Regions from separate parts of the Homo sapiens genome. Here region 2 is linked to region 1. Evidence: promoter capture Hi-C in 16 types of primary human blood cells and fetal thymus (Javierre and others, 2016). All regions are on one chromosome and are shown on one strand. The core of a region is centred on a gene start or on the middle of the fragment in contact, and the rest is flanking DNA. Distances in the headings are between cores, read along the strand shown.

Region 1 (6,272 bases), core at 543-3,042:
CACTGAAAAAAATACAATTTACCCAATTAAAATAACGAAGCAAGATTTAACTAAGATCATTTTAGTGAGAAACAGTTGTTCTCACCCTGGCTGCCCATTAGAATTCCCTGGGGAGCTTTTAAAAACTAGAAGCCCAGGTTCCACTGGAGTGATTCCGATTTAATTGGTCTGAGGTAGACCCAGGCATCGGTATTTTTTAAAAAGCTCCTTAGAGAATTCTAATAAGCAGCCAGGATGGAGAGTCTTGAGTTAGAAGTAGAGTACAGCTAAGGATGCCATATCAATAAACCTATTCTGCTAATGAAAGATTAATAGAGAAAATAGGATGAAAGAACTTTGATCCCAGACAAGGAATACAGGCCTATTGGTTACAAGGACATAATTCAAGACCACAAGAAAATAAAAATCCATTTTACTCTGAGTGACTTTTTTTTCAAGCTGGCAGAAAATGGCATTATGCCCACCTTGTTAATAACACGGACACCCATACAGATGCCACACATATTTAAAAACATATTTTATTTCCATTATGGACAACAAAAAGAGAGTAACAGCTGATGGTTGACTACAAGAAAAATATAAGAGAAAGAGGAGAGTGTCAATATTGCCCGGACAAGAAAACACAGGAAAAAATGAATTGCATTGAGAAAGTGATTAAAAGAAATTGATTCCGTTATTTCTGAGAGAAAAAAACGCATATATATATAGAATACACCTAGCAACGAGTTTGCTTGTATCACATGGCTCTTGAGTCTGCACTTTTCAGGATTTAACTCTTAAGAGAGCCACAGAATTATCAGAGCAGAGCCGAAAGCCAAGTAACTATTCTTCTAAGTAGAACCAGAAACCTAGTTCTTCCCCAACTGCAATGAAGATTCGCTGGTGGGTGAATGGGCAACTAAAGGCCAGAGAAGTTCTATTATTTGCCCTAAATCACTCAACTAATTAGTGGTCATACTGGAATCAGAACCAAGATTTTGCATTGTTAGGTTTTAATTTTGTTACATTTGCACTCTAACTGCACTGAAAACAGAAAAAAGAAATGCGTAGTGCAGTTTCTAAATTGCCACAGCTGGAGCACTTTAAGAGCTACAATTGTCCAGTTAAGGCGGTAGTGGGTGGATGGTGCTGCCATGTTAATTCGGTGGAATAAAACCAGAGGTGAGTTAGGCCGGGCGCGGTGGCTCACGCTTGTAATCCCAGCACTTTGGGAGGCCGAGGTGGGCGGATCACCTGAGGTCGCGAGTTTGAGACCAGCCTGACCAACAGGGAGAAACCCCGTCTACCAAAAATACAAAATTAGCCGGCCCTGGTGGCATGCGCCCGTAATCCCAGCAACTCGGGAGGCTGAGGCAGGAGAATCGCTTGAACCCAGGAGGCGGAGGTTGCGGTGAGCGGAGATCGCGCCATTGCACTCCAGCCTGGGAAACAAGAGCGAAACTCCCTCTCAAAAAAAACAAAAAACAGAAAAACAAACAAAAAAAACAGAGGTGAGTTCAGCAGAAGAAACAAAGGTGGATTATTAGTCTTAAGTGTGCGTGCCTACTTCAGGAAGGGAGTGAAAGCAAAAAACTGAGGAGCTAAGGGTGGGAGGGGGAATGAAAGGATCTCAGAATGTGGGCGTCGTGGGTGGGAAAAGGGATGCCAGGACACCAGAAGAGCAATACAAAACAGCTCCCGTGAGCAGGCACAGGAGACCTTCCGCGCCGCCGGCCGGGCGACCCCGCAGGAAGTAGGAAGGACGAGCGCGCACTACAAGTCCCAGAAGCCCCCGTTTCCTGGAGCCCGCGCCGTGCCGCGCTACGCCCGCCGGGAGCCGGGCAGAGCGGCCAAGATGTCGCAGCCCAAGAAAAGAAAGCTTGAGTCGGGGGGCGGCGGCGAAGGAGGGGAGGGAACTGAAGAGGAAGATGGCGCGGAGCGGGAGGCGGCCCTGGAGCGACCCCGGAGGACTAAGCGGGAACGGGACCAGCTGTACTACGAGTGCTACTCGGACGTTTCGGTCCACGAGGAGATGATCGCGGACCGCGTCCGCACCGATGCCTACCGCCTGGGTATCCTTCGGAACTGGGCAGCACTGCGAGGCAAGACGGTACTGGACGTGGGCGCGGGCACCGGCATTCTGAGCATCTTCTGTGCCCAGGCCGGGGCCCGGCGCGTGTACGCGGTAGAGGCCAGCGCCATCTGGCAACAGGCCCGGGAGGTGGTGCGGTTCAACGGGCTGGAGGACCGGGTGCACGTCCTGCCGGGACCAGTGGAGACTGTAGAGTTGCCGGAACAGGTGGATGCCATCGTGAGCGAGTGGATGGGCTACGGACTCCTGCACGAGTCCATGCTGAGCTCCGTCCTCCACGCGCGAACCAAGTGGCTGAAGGAGGGCGGTCTTCTCCTGCCGGCCTCCGCCGAGCTCTTCATAGCCCCCATCAGCGACCAGATGCTGGAATGGCGCCTGGGCTTCTGGAGCCAGGTGAAGCAGCACTATGGTGTGGACATGAGCTGCCTGGAGGGCTTCGCCACGCGCTGTCTCATGGGCCACTCGGAGATCGTTGTGCAGGGATTGTCCGGCGAGGACGTGCTGGCCCGGCCGCAGCGCTTTGCTCAGCTAGAGCTCTCCCGCGCCGGCTTGGAGCAGGAGCTGGAGGCCGGAGTGGGCGGGCGCTTCCGCTGCAGCTGCTATGGCTCGGCGCCCATGCATGGCTTTGCCATCTGGTTCCAGGTGACCTTCCCTGGAGGGGAGTCGGAGAAACCCCTGGTGCTGTCCACCTCGCCTTTTCACCCGGCCACTCACTGGAAACAGGCGCTCCTCTACCTGAACGAGCCGGTGCAAGTGGAGCAAGACACGGACGTTTCAGGAGAGATCACGCTGCTGCCCTCCCGGGACAACCCCCGTCGCCTGCGCGTGCTGCTGCGCTACAAAGTGGGAGACCAGGAGGAGAAGACCAAAGACTTTGCCATGGAGGACTGAGCGTTGCCTTTTCTCCCAGCTACCTCCCAAAGCAGCCTGACCTGCGTGGGAGAGGCGTAGCGAGGTCGGAGGGGAAAGGGAGATCCCACGTGCAAGTAGGGGGAATATCTCCCCCTTTTCCCTCATAGCCTCTAGGGAGGGAGAGTGACTTCATTCTCCATTTGAAGAGATTCTTCTGGTGATGTTTACTTAAAAAGTGATCCCCCTCAACAACGGATACAGCGTGCTTATTATTGGGCATTTAGCCTCAAAAGCATGTAGTACCAAGCACTTGTATTTCCGTATATTTTGTTTCGCGGGGGAGTGAGGGGGAAGAACACGGATGAAAATGTCAGTTTTTGAAGGGTCCATGCACATCCCTGACACCTCACACCTTATCTAAGTCTGAAGCTGGGGAGAAAGGGGTTCATTTAGACTTCATACATTTCCAGTACGACTTTAGTATCTCTCCAGAGCCATATTTTCTCAGTCCGAATTAATTCCCCCTCCCTAGGTGCCTGTAGGCTATGGTACTTCTTCCTCATTGTTTTCTAGGTAAACTTCACTACTGGTAATTAAGGGGAAGGATATGAGGAAGCAGTTTAAATAGCCCTGTTCTCATTACTCTGACCACATACATCATAGGGTGCTAAAGTTGATGAACACATTAATCCGTTAAGTAAAATGGACTTTGTAATTGTACAGCATACCTAAGAAACTCAGAAGGTGCATTTAAGAGAGAGACCTGAAAGAAATAGTATGGATTTTTAAAAATTCTTGTCTCTACTATTATAACCAAAAAATATTTCTTGTATGTCCCATAAAAATATTTGTGTAATTCTTATGAAACAGGCTGGTAGAGGAGGTTTCTGAGCCTAGCCCAAGGGCTTATTCATCACCATGGGTAAATTATTTAAACTCACTTAATTAAGGAAAATATTTTCCCAGCTAGAAAAGTATACTCATTCTCATTTAAACTCTCTCATTTGGAGGGATCATGTGAGTTGGCCTACTTACAAGTAGTGAAAGTTCCCTTTTCAGTTTTGTTTTGTTTTGTTTTGTTTTTCTCTTTCACTCAGCCAAATGTGAAAGTTGTGAATTTAGGAAAATCACTTGTAATGAAGTGTGAATCTTGTTATCAAATTTATTTCTCTGATGTTTCCTTCCTTATCCTTGTAGCCAATAAAACATTGACATTCTCACGTTTTATAGATGAGGTAAAAAGTCTTGTGTGCTGTGAGTTATAATGCTTTTGCCTTTTTAATATTATTAGTTCTTAAGTGTTACAGCCCCTTCAGAATATAACTTCAGGACAATTCAAACTATGCTTAATGTATGATTTTCGAGCTTCTGTATGCTAAGAAAATAGGTGTGAAAAACTGGTGTTCTGAAATAGCCTAACATTTATTGTAATTCTGAATTTTCTGCCCTTTTATTCATTGCATATTAAAGTATTAGAGTATAAAAACTAATTTGCTAAACTTTGGTTGTATATAACACAGATCTTCCATCATGGAGAGATATACATGTACAAAATTATCAATTTACAAGATAATTGAGTAGCAAGCAGTACAGTTGTAACCGTCACCATTTTGATGCTAAGATAGTGATCATCTCATGTAAATGCTACAGTCACAGCAAGCTAGACTTAAGCTAGAGGGAAAATAGAGCTCCTTATAAGGTGTTCTATGTTTTAAATCAAATATTTATTTAGAGTTTGAGTGTGTGATTTTGAGTAGGTTTCTGGTGGTTTGGTTTGTTTTTTAAAAAAAACTTGATTTAACAATTCCTTTACTAAGTGATAAATGAGAATATTCTTCCAAATTCTATTTTTTATATATTTGATAAATACTATAGAGTTATCATTATCAGTATAAGCACATAAAGGGAACCTCAGTTAAAACTTGGAGGAACTATAGAAGTAAAGGGTATGTATTCCATAGTTAAAGTAAGCTTCAGGATTTTTATTACTCCTTCCCAGAAGAAAAATGAATTATAAAAATACAGCGACTGAAGCAATTAGTCAAGAGTTAGCATAACATAATGGCTACAAAATTGGACTCTGGAGCCAGACAGCCCATAGTAGAACCTAGGCTCCACCACTCTTTGTGACCTTGGGCAAAATATTAAACACCTTTTTTTCCTTCAAAATGGAGGAAATTCCTCTCGTATGCAAAATGGAGATAACAATAGTACCTATGTCATAGATGTGAGAATAGAATGAGTTAATACATGTGACTACATAATGTCTGGTATGTAATAAGATCTCAATAAAGCCTCAGTGTGGTAGTTAGGGAAAAGTCAAACCTGGAGCACTTGGATGCATGCAAAATGTGTGACAGAATAAATATTCAACATTTTGATTTTTTTTACAGGTATTCAACAGTATGTGGTTGTACGTGAGGAGCAATGTATGACACTGTACACCAAATGATCCAAAGGGAATTCAAGACCTCTGGAGTGAGGACACCTCCAGAAGGATGAAGGTGTAAGATGTATCAACATCCAGGCACTGTCCAATCTGTCTGTATGGACTGGTACTGACTGCTTGGTGCCATTGGACCACAGGCAGGAACTACCAGGCCCAAAGGAGAGGAAAACATGGTAAAGTTCAACCTGCTTCCCTCAAACAACTTACATTTATTTTGCGCTGTGAAAGTTTACAAATATTTTCATTAATTCATTGGACCAATGGACATTTTATTGAGTATACAATGCAACAGTCATTGTGATAAGCATTTAGGATACAAACCAACAAAACACAGTTTCTTCCTTCAAATGATATGTTCATAAGATAAAATGGTAAGTACAATAAATGATAATGGGCTAAAGACTGGGATGGTCTTGGTGTTAGAAAGGGCAAGTAATTAACTCAATTTACATACCAGGAACAAGAGTTATACAGATATTGAAGGACTTGGCCTAAGTTTACATAGCTAATTCTTGGCTTTTAATTCCTAACTCCAAACAAAAATTCACATGTTTATTATATTAATCTTGCCTGCTTCAATTAAAAACAGAAGTGGGCACGGTGGCTCACGCCTGTAATCCCAGCACTTTGGGAGGCCGAGGCGGGCGGATCACCAGGTCAGGAGATCAAGACCATCCTGGCTAACACGGTGAAACCCCGTCTCTACTAAAAATACAAAAAATTAGCCGGGCATGGTGGCGGGTGCCTGTAGTCCCAGCAACTCGGGAGGCTGAGGCAGGAGAATGGCGTGAACCTGGGAGGCCGAGCTTGCAGTGAGCCAAGATAGTGCCATTGCACTCTAGCCTGGGTGACAGAGCAAGACTCTGTCTCAAAAAAATAAAAAAAAATAAAACACAGAAG
Region 2 (7,069 bases), core at 1,643-4,142, 470 kb after region 1:
TTCAATGACTAAATCACCTCTTTTCTTTGTTCTAGAAAGGCCATGTTTGCTATAGATGTTAGGCAGTGAGCTCAGGTTTACATTTCAGTTTTGTTTGTTTTCACAGCCCCCAAGCCCTAATCATTTTCTACCATACCCATACTACCACATTTCTCTGTTGTCATTACACTGAGCTAAATTAATTTACCTCCCTGTCCAAATTGTAAGCCTACAGAGTTAGAATCTACCCAGGAAAATATGACCAAGTAGAGTAAATGCTGGGCCTGCAGGTGGATGACTTGACATCCAGTCTCAGCTCTGACACTCACCTGGGTCACTCTAAGGTGGATTGCTCGTCTGTAAAATGGGTTTTATTCATAGATACAGAGTGAGTTGCTACCCTGGAACTTGGAGAGAAATAAGATGGGCTTTGAAAACTTCAACTAGTCAAACAGTAGATGTGACACATATCTGTGGGAGTAAACCAAGAGATTATCTGTGCCTTATAGCTTTAGAAACACCCCAAATTCTAGTCAGGGTGATCTAGGAGCAAACCCAGGGATGGCAAACTTGAACATAATTAGGATTTAGTCAGTAGAAAAAAAATCAATAGTATTGAATCCTCTTTGGAGAAAGGTTTTGTGAACTGATAATCTAGGACTGGCATCTCAAGGGGTCAGCAAACAATGGCCTGTGGGCCAAGTCCAGCTTGCTGCCTGTTTCTGTAAATAAGGTTTCATTGGAACATTTGTTTACATATTGTCTAAGCCTGTTTCTGTGCTACAATGATGGAGTTCTGTAGCTATGACAGAATCATGTGGTCTACATTTCCTAAGTATTTACTCTCTAGCCCTTTGGAGAAAACGTTTGCTAGCCCCAGTCAGTCTTTGATCTCTCAGTGTTTGATCTCCTCTGGCTCCTCTCCAGAATAAACCATACTCCCAACAGTTTTCACATTGGGGCAGGGGGGTCTTGGTGCTTATCAGAGTCTCCATGTGTGGTGCTTAATTATAAATACCCCCTAGTATGTGGTTATACTGATGGAAATGCCGAAGTTTCCAAGTTTGGAAATTTCTTCTTAGATTTGTCTAGGACAAGATGCCTGGTAAGTCCAAACAAAGAAGTTAGTGTTCCTGACAGCCACGTTCCCACCTTGGAGATGAATGCATGAAGCTATCGAAGCTTAACACCATTTAATATTCAAATGTATAATTCCCCTTGTTCAGTTCCACACCCCTCAAGCAATCTTCTGATAATTTGACTTCCCATGTAGAGTGCCCCCCAGAGAGCAGGCCAAGTTGACATATGTCTGTCTGCCAGTAGCTTTTCTAATTACAGATGACTAAATTGGTGATCTAGCTAATATATATCAGTCTCTGTGAACTTGGTTTGTGTCCCAATCCCTGAGGGGCAAATGACAGAGACACTCTTAATGTACTGACATATTATTCTGTGTTCCGAACCCACAAGATTGTCTTGAGAATATATGAGAAGTGAACATGGACCCAACTTGTTAAACCATAAAGACCCCACTGTGCTCCCTTAATTTCTAGAATGTGCACATTTGACAAAAGCTGAGGGCAGGGGTCAAAGAAACATTTAGCCTGTTCTCTGTTGAAGAGACTTTGCTAATAATAAAAATACTGTCAGTGTGGTTCATTAACAGTTTTTAATTGAGGTGACCTGTAGAAACTTACCAGCCAGTTTAAGTTCTAGTTCTGGCTTAAATGTCTCTTAAATCTACTTTCCCCATTACCCTTGGCTCTCCTTTCCTGAGAGAAGCCTTCACCTTCTTTCACCTGGACCTAAAACGACAACAGCCTTCAGTCTAATCATTCCAAACGCTTCCTCAACCCTCAGGTGCTAGAGTGACTTACCCTCAAACACAAAGCTCAGCATGCTGGCTTCATTAAAATTTTTTTTAGCAATGTAGCATTCAAACTCCTCCACATCCTGGCCCCACCTTACCAGTCACATGAGCCATGATCCAGCTACACTCCACTGCGTGCAAGTTCCACAACAGACTATTCCCTTCCACGTGCCTCTGCTGTGGCGAGATGCTAGTTGCCCCCGTAACTTGTTTTTCCTGTTTTTTTCATGGGTACAGAACCACCTTATTACAAGCATATTTCCCTGCCCCCCTTGAGGCTAGATGTGGTCATGTCAAAGTCAATGAAATATAAAGAAGTGTGCAATTTCTGCCTTCCTTACTATAATAAAGTAACTTACCCTGGACCACTTCTCCCTATTCTTCACACGGCTGGAAATGGCAAGCCAGCTGATGCTCCAGCAGTGTGAAAAATGCCTAGAGGATGGTGGAGCAACAAGTTGGAAGGACCATGGTCCCTGAATGACCTCATGGAGTAGGGCAGCCCCACCAGACTGCCTACCTTTAGACTATTATATGAGAGGAAAATGGACATCTATCTTTTCAAGTTACTGTACTGCAGATCTCTTTCTCACAGCAGCTTAGCTTTTACTGGAACAGACTTGCCTTCACATATTCTAATTCTTCAGGCTGCCCCATCCCTGTTCACTTGATGAGTTCCAATTTACATTGTTGTGAAGTACCACAATGCCCTCAGGACCAAGCGGAATGAATCCCCCTTTGCCTGTGCGCTCCATAGGACATTTACTTGATTGCATTGCCAGTGCCATACTGCTGTAATACGATTTTTGGCTTGCCGGATCCATGAGCAAGGTAAGCACCATTTTAAAATTTGTCTCTGAATCTCCAGGCCAAAGTCTAGCACATAGTAGGAGATCAGCATGTTTTCAAAGGTAAATAAATAAAAGCTTATCCCCTCACCTAGCTTAGCAGTAAGAAGCATCTGAAGAGTTAAGAAGTAGAACACAGAAAATTAGAAGAAAGAGATAAATGAAAGGGAAGAAACAGTGAGGCATAAGCCATGCCCTCTAGGTCTGCTGCAGCCTCAGCAGCACCCAGCTCTCTGTAGGAACTCAATAACCACAGATCGATTGAGCTCAACCTTTGCTTGTCATTACTGCTTCCTTCTGCCAGACCCCAAGGAAGCTTCTATAGAAAGTCGGTCCAGAGACTAAAAGAATAGTGAGGGGTGGTGTGTCAGATCAGCTGTTAATTAACAAATCATTCAAATCATGGAGTAAACAAATCTACATTAGAAGTATGCACAAGTTTCAGTGTATGGCTTTATTTTATATATTTTGGTTTATAAAATGTCTCATGATTATAGAATAGCTGTTAACTTAAAACCCACTTCTTTATTTCATCAGATTTTCAAACTGAAACTTTTAAAAGTGATTGATTCTCTGACTGATCCCATTTCTTTCCTATAGCCATGTCTATTCATGGTACTTTGGAAACACAGCACATGTTGCTTATGGAAACACACACTAAGATGAGAGCTAGGAAACTCAGTGGCCTTTAATTATTCAGGATTTAATCGTGCAAGCATGTACAATCAATATTTGTTGATCTTAATCTGATTACCTCCTAGTCGTGTTCAGCGTCTCCATCAACAGGATAACAATATGACACATTTCATAGACTTTCCCTAGGTTCTTCCAACAAGCTTATTGGAAGGATTTTAATCAGCTAATGAACTCGTCAATGGTATTTTCAGGAGCCAAGGCACCTTCCTGCACCTATATCCCATGACCATATTTGCCTGACATCTTGTGGCCACAAGGAGCATGACAGTCTATAAACCCAACATCTGTACACAGGGCAAGCAGCGTCTTTGAATGCTAATCCCTGCATCACAGTCAGAGCGAGTATAAAACTGCTTAAGAGATGTGTGACATGTAATTATTTCATCTAATTAAAATGGAAGCTAGGCTTTTCTTTTTATATTTATGAGGCAAGTTGGAACATGTGGGTCAATTCTTCTAAGGAAAGGAATGGGGTCTCTATCTGGGCTGAACATCTGGCTTGTTATCAACTACCTTGGCCACAGAACACTTTTCCTGTGAAAGGCCCACAAAAAACAGAATATGGCTCACTGGACTGAGAGAAGTAAGAGCATCTGTGGTCAGCTCCTCTGAGAGAGAGAGAGAGAGAGGATTTCGAGCTGGGATTGTTGGAACAAAGAACGCAGAATCCTCCGAGTAAAGAGACTGAAAAAAGGTTTCATCTTCAACACCACAATGGTATATTTTGCGTCTCATAAACTTGACTTTTTAGCACTAGAAACATTTTGTTTAAAGCCAAATTTAGGGTGGCATTATATAAATATAGAATAGAACAATAAAGGTGCTTTGATTGAAGCAGGGAGTCTGAGCGCCACTGGTTTAGCTTTTCTCTCCCACCCCCGCCACCACCCCAGACACATCCTCCAAACCCACACCTTTGAGGGCACAGTCTGACAACTGTTGAAAATATGGAAATTGTATTATATGTGAAATCAGAAGTCTTAGCTTTGTATCTCAACTCTACTCTTTAGTACCTGAGCATCATATAACAAGTCATTAACCTTTCTAAACCTCAGGGTTTTCATCTCTAAAGTAGGGAGAATAATATTTACTTCACAGGGTTATTGGGAACATTAAAAGAGGCAGTAAAATGAAGATGCTTTGTAATTGCTAGACAAATGATCACATTGCCATCATCAGACAGTCATAATGGGCAGTCACGCAACCAAGAGGAACGAGCTCCAGACAATGCCCTGCACTGTCTTCCTGCCAGGTTCTCATTCCTCCACGTTCCAGAGGCATTTACTGGAAGTCTTGATTCATGACTATGTCCCTGAGCAGCTTCGGATAGCAAAGACACAATGGAATACTCTGAACACAAGCATATAGGGCCTCTAAACACACATTGGTTCACCATTATTGCCTTGTTGACGAAGCATAGTTTTCCCGTTTCTCTTTTTCCCTGAATCTGTTACCCACCACCCCCCTTCGATTATTACCAAATCAGAAGATCTAGATTCGTGTATCTTTTTTTTATTATTTTTTTACCTGTTCTTTTTATTATTATTATACTTTAAGTTCTAGGGTACATGTGTACAACGTGCAGGTTTGATACATAGGTATACATGTGCCGTGTTGGTTTGCTGCACCCATCAACTCATCATTTACATTAGGTATTTCTCCTAATGCTATCCCTCCCCCAGAGAACATCGTGTACCTTAAAAGGTGTAGCTACTGAAGCCCAGAGAGGTTGTAACTTGTCTCTGAGCCTATAGCGAGTTTGTGACTAAGCTAGACTAGAATCCACTTCTCTTGTCACTCAAATGATCACCCAGCTGCCTGGGCTGCTTGTCTTATAAAGGATGCCAATCTATGTTAATGAAGGGTGGGAGGGGGCTAGTGTTGTACTGAAGAAATCCGATGGAGATAACCAGCAAGACGACTCCAGAATCACTCTTAGAAGCTGGATGACTGCAGGATAAAACAGCAGAGAAATTGAGCATTCACTTCCCTTGGGAATTGAATGAACGGGGAATAGAACATGTTCTGTCCACCAGGAAGAGGATCAGTTTATTTCTAGGTGTTTCTGAGAGATGAGTAATTGTGACTGGGCAGCAGTAGGATACCACCCCTTCAAGCCCATGACTCTGCGCATCCCCAGGCCCATGAGTGTGTGATACCAGATGAGAAGGAGAAGCAGGAGGCCTTGCCACCATGACAGCCAGCTGGGTGTTATCAGTGAGCTAGGACGCAAACTGTCAATCACAGAAGACATGGCTTATCCCACAGCACACCTTTCATACATGAGAATAAATTCTCAAGAAAAAGTGTATCATTTCCGATGGAGAACTTTTACACATAAACTGTCTGATGCGCTCTCCTGACCCAAAAAGAGGAAACGAATAGCACCCAATATCCTACCAAATCCTCCTTCAAGGCTGAAAATTATGTGGTTCTAATGTGCCATTAAAGGTAATTTAAAAGAAAATGGCTGTTTAATTTAGAGATCATTTCTGGCAAGGCTGAGACCTGTCTTCACCAGCATTTGAAGCTATTATATAAACCACCAAAATCAGAACTACAGGCAATCTTGTCTATTCATGGGCCAGGCATGTGTGCCTTTTTCTCTCATGCTCTTTAATATTTGCTATTTCTTTTATTTGAACCCAAAGGAGAAAAATCTCAGTTGCAGAAATAGAACATGAATTCAGTAGAGTGTTTTTTTTTCTTTTCTTTTTCTTTTTTTTTTTTTAAGAGAGAGACTTCAGAGGCAAGATGATAAATGGCTAATAAGAAACAGGGGTGCCTAGGGGCTTGCAAGGAGGGGGCTGACCATGCACGTGAGAATTCAGGATTCAGTGATAGGGAGCTGCTGTTTCAGCCCTCAAAGAAGAAGCTATCGATTCATTTTTAAGGCAAACAAGTTGGATCCTGGGGACTGCTGAAGGTGAAGCAGCAGCTTCTCTGAGCCTGCCACACTGGGTGACCTTTGCATGGGGCCACAGAAAGAACAATGGCAAGGCAACACTCCTAAATTAGTCATCGGTGCTGTTTGATTTGCTCCTGTGCCAGATGTTCCCTCATTGATCACTGCCTGGCCCATATGTCCTCTCTGAACAGGGGAGCGAGTGGAGCCAGCAGCCGCCACTTCAGAAGCAGCCACCAGAGCGGGCTAATGGAGTCCTTGGCAGGAGGTTGCCATCTGATTGGTTTGCCACTGTTTCTCTTAGAGATCAAGGGCATTATACAGGCAGCACACCTGCCCACTCTCAGGGCCAGGCTCCGGGCAGTCAGGCAGCCTCAATTCCTGAAAGGCCCTGGTGAGCTTCCCAGAACCCCTCAGCAGCGTCCCTGGCCCTCTCACTCTTTTCGTCCCTGTCACAAGAAGCCCCTGTGGCATTTGTTAAACAGCCATTGCCATGTTCAAAGTGAGGCTCAACTTGGCCTGCAGTTTTTCTGTTCTTATTGCTTCTGAGCGGAGGACTGGGGGGCACTCTGCCCTTCTCCGACTTAAGGGTGGAGAGGGATCACAATTTTAAGCCAGCAGGTAGAGGAAAGAGACTGGAGAGCTGCTCATCAGGGATGTTGGCTGGCTTGTCCTTTTATATCACTAAGAACTGCCATGTGGATATAAGAGGCAAGGACACCTTTCCCAGCTTCTCATGAGGCCTGTAAGAAACATCCCTTTTATCTGCCC

What was found. The method cuts DNA at HindIII sites, captures the fragments that hold promoters and counts their contacts. A CHiCAGO score of 5 or more calls a contact.
Region 2: a contact is called between a fragment that was not itself captured here and the fragment with the promoter of PRMT6 in region 1, in 4 of 17 cell types (naive B cells, total B cells, fetal thymus and 1 more). The highest score is 8.9, in naive B cells.

Annotation. Positions count from the first base shown.
Region 1 is chr1:107,054,882-107,061,153 of GRCh38, forward strand. PRMT6 (protein arginine methyltransferase 6) reads left to right here and starts at 1,793. Exons shown (of 1, transcript NM_018137.3): 1 at 1,793-4,413. The coding sequence starts at 1,835. The coding sequence ends at 2,962. RefSeq lists enhancers at 2,025-2,074, 2,095-2,234, 2,245-2,374, 2,385-2,594. The HindIII fragment of the contact is 2,330 bases long and covers 1-1,856 here.
Region 2 is chr1:107,526,102-107,533,170 of GRCh38, forward strand. No RefSeq gene overlaps it. Among named protein-coding and RNA genes, the nearest start is that of MIR7852, 370 kb to the right of the region's middle. The HindIII fragment of the contact is 238 bases long and covers 2,774-3,011 here.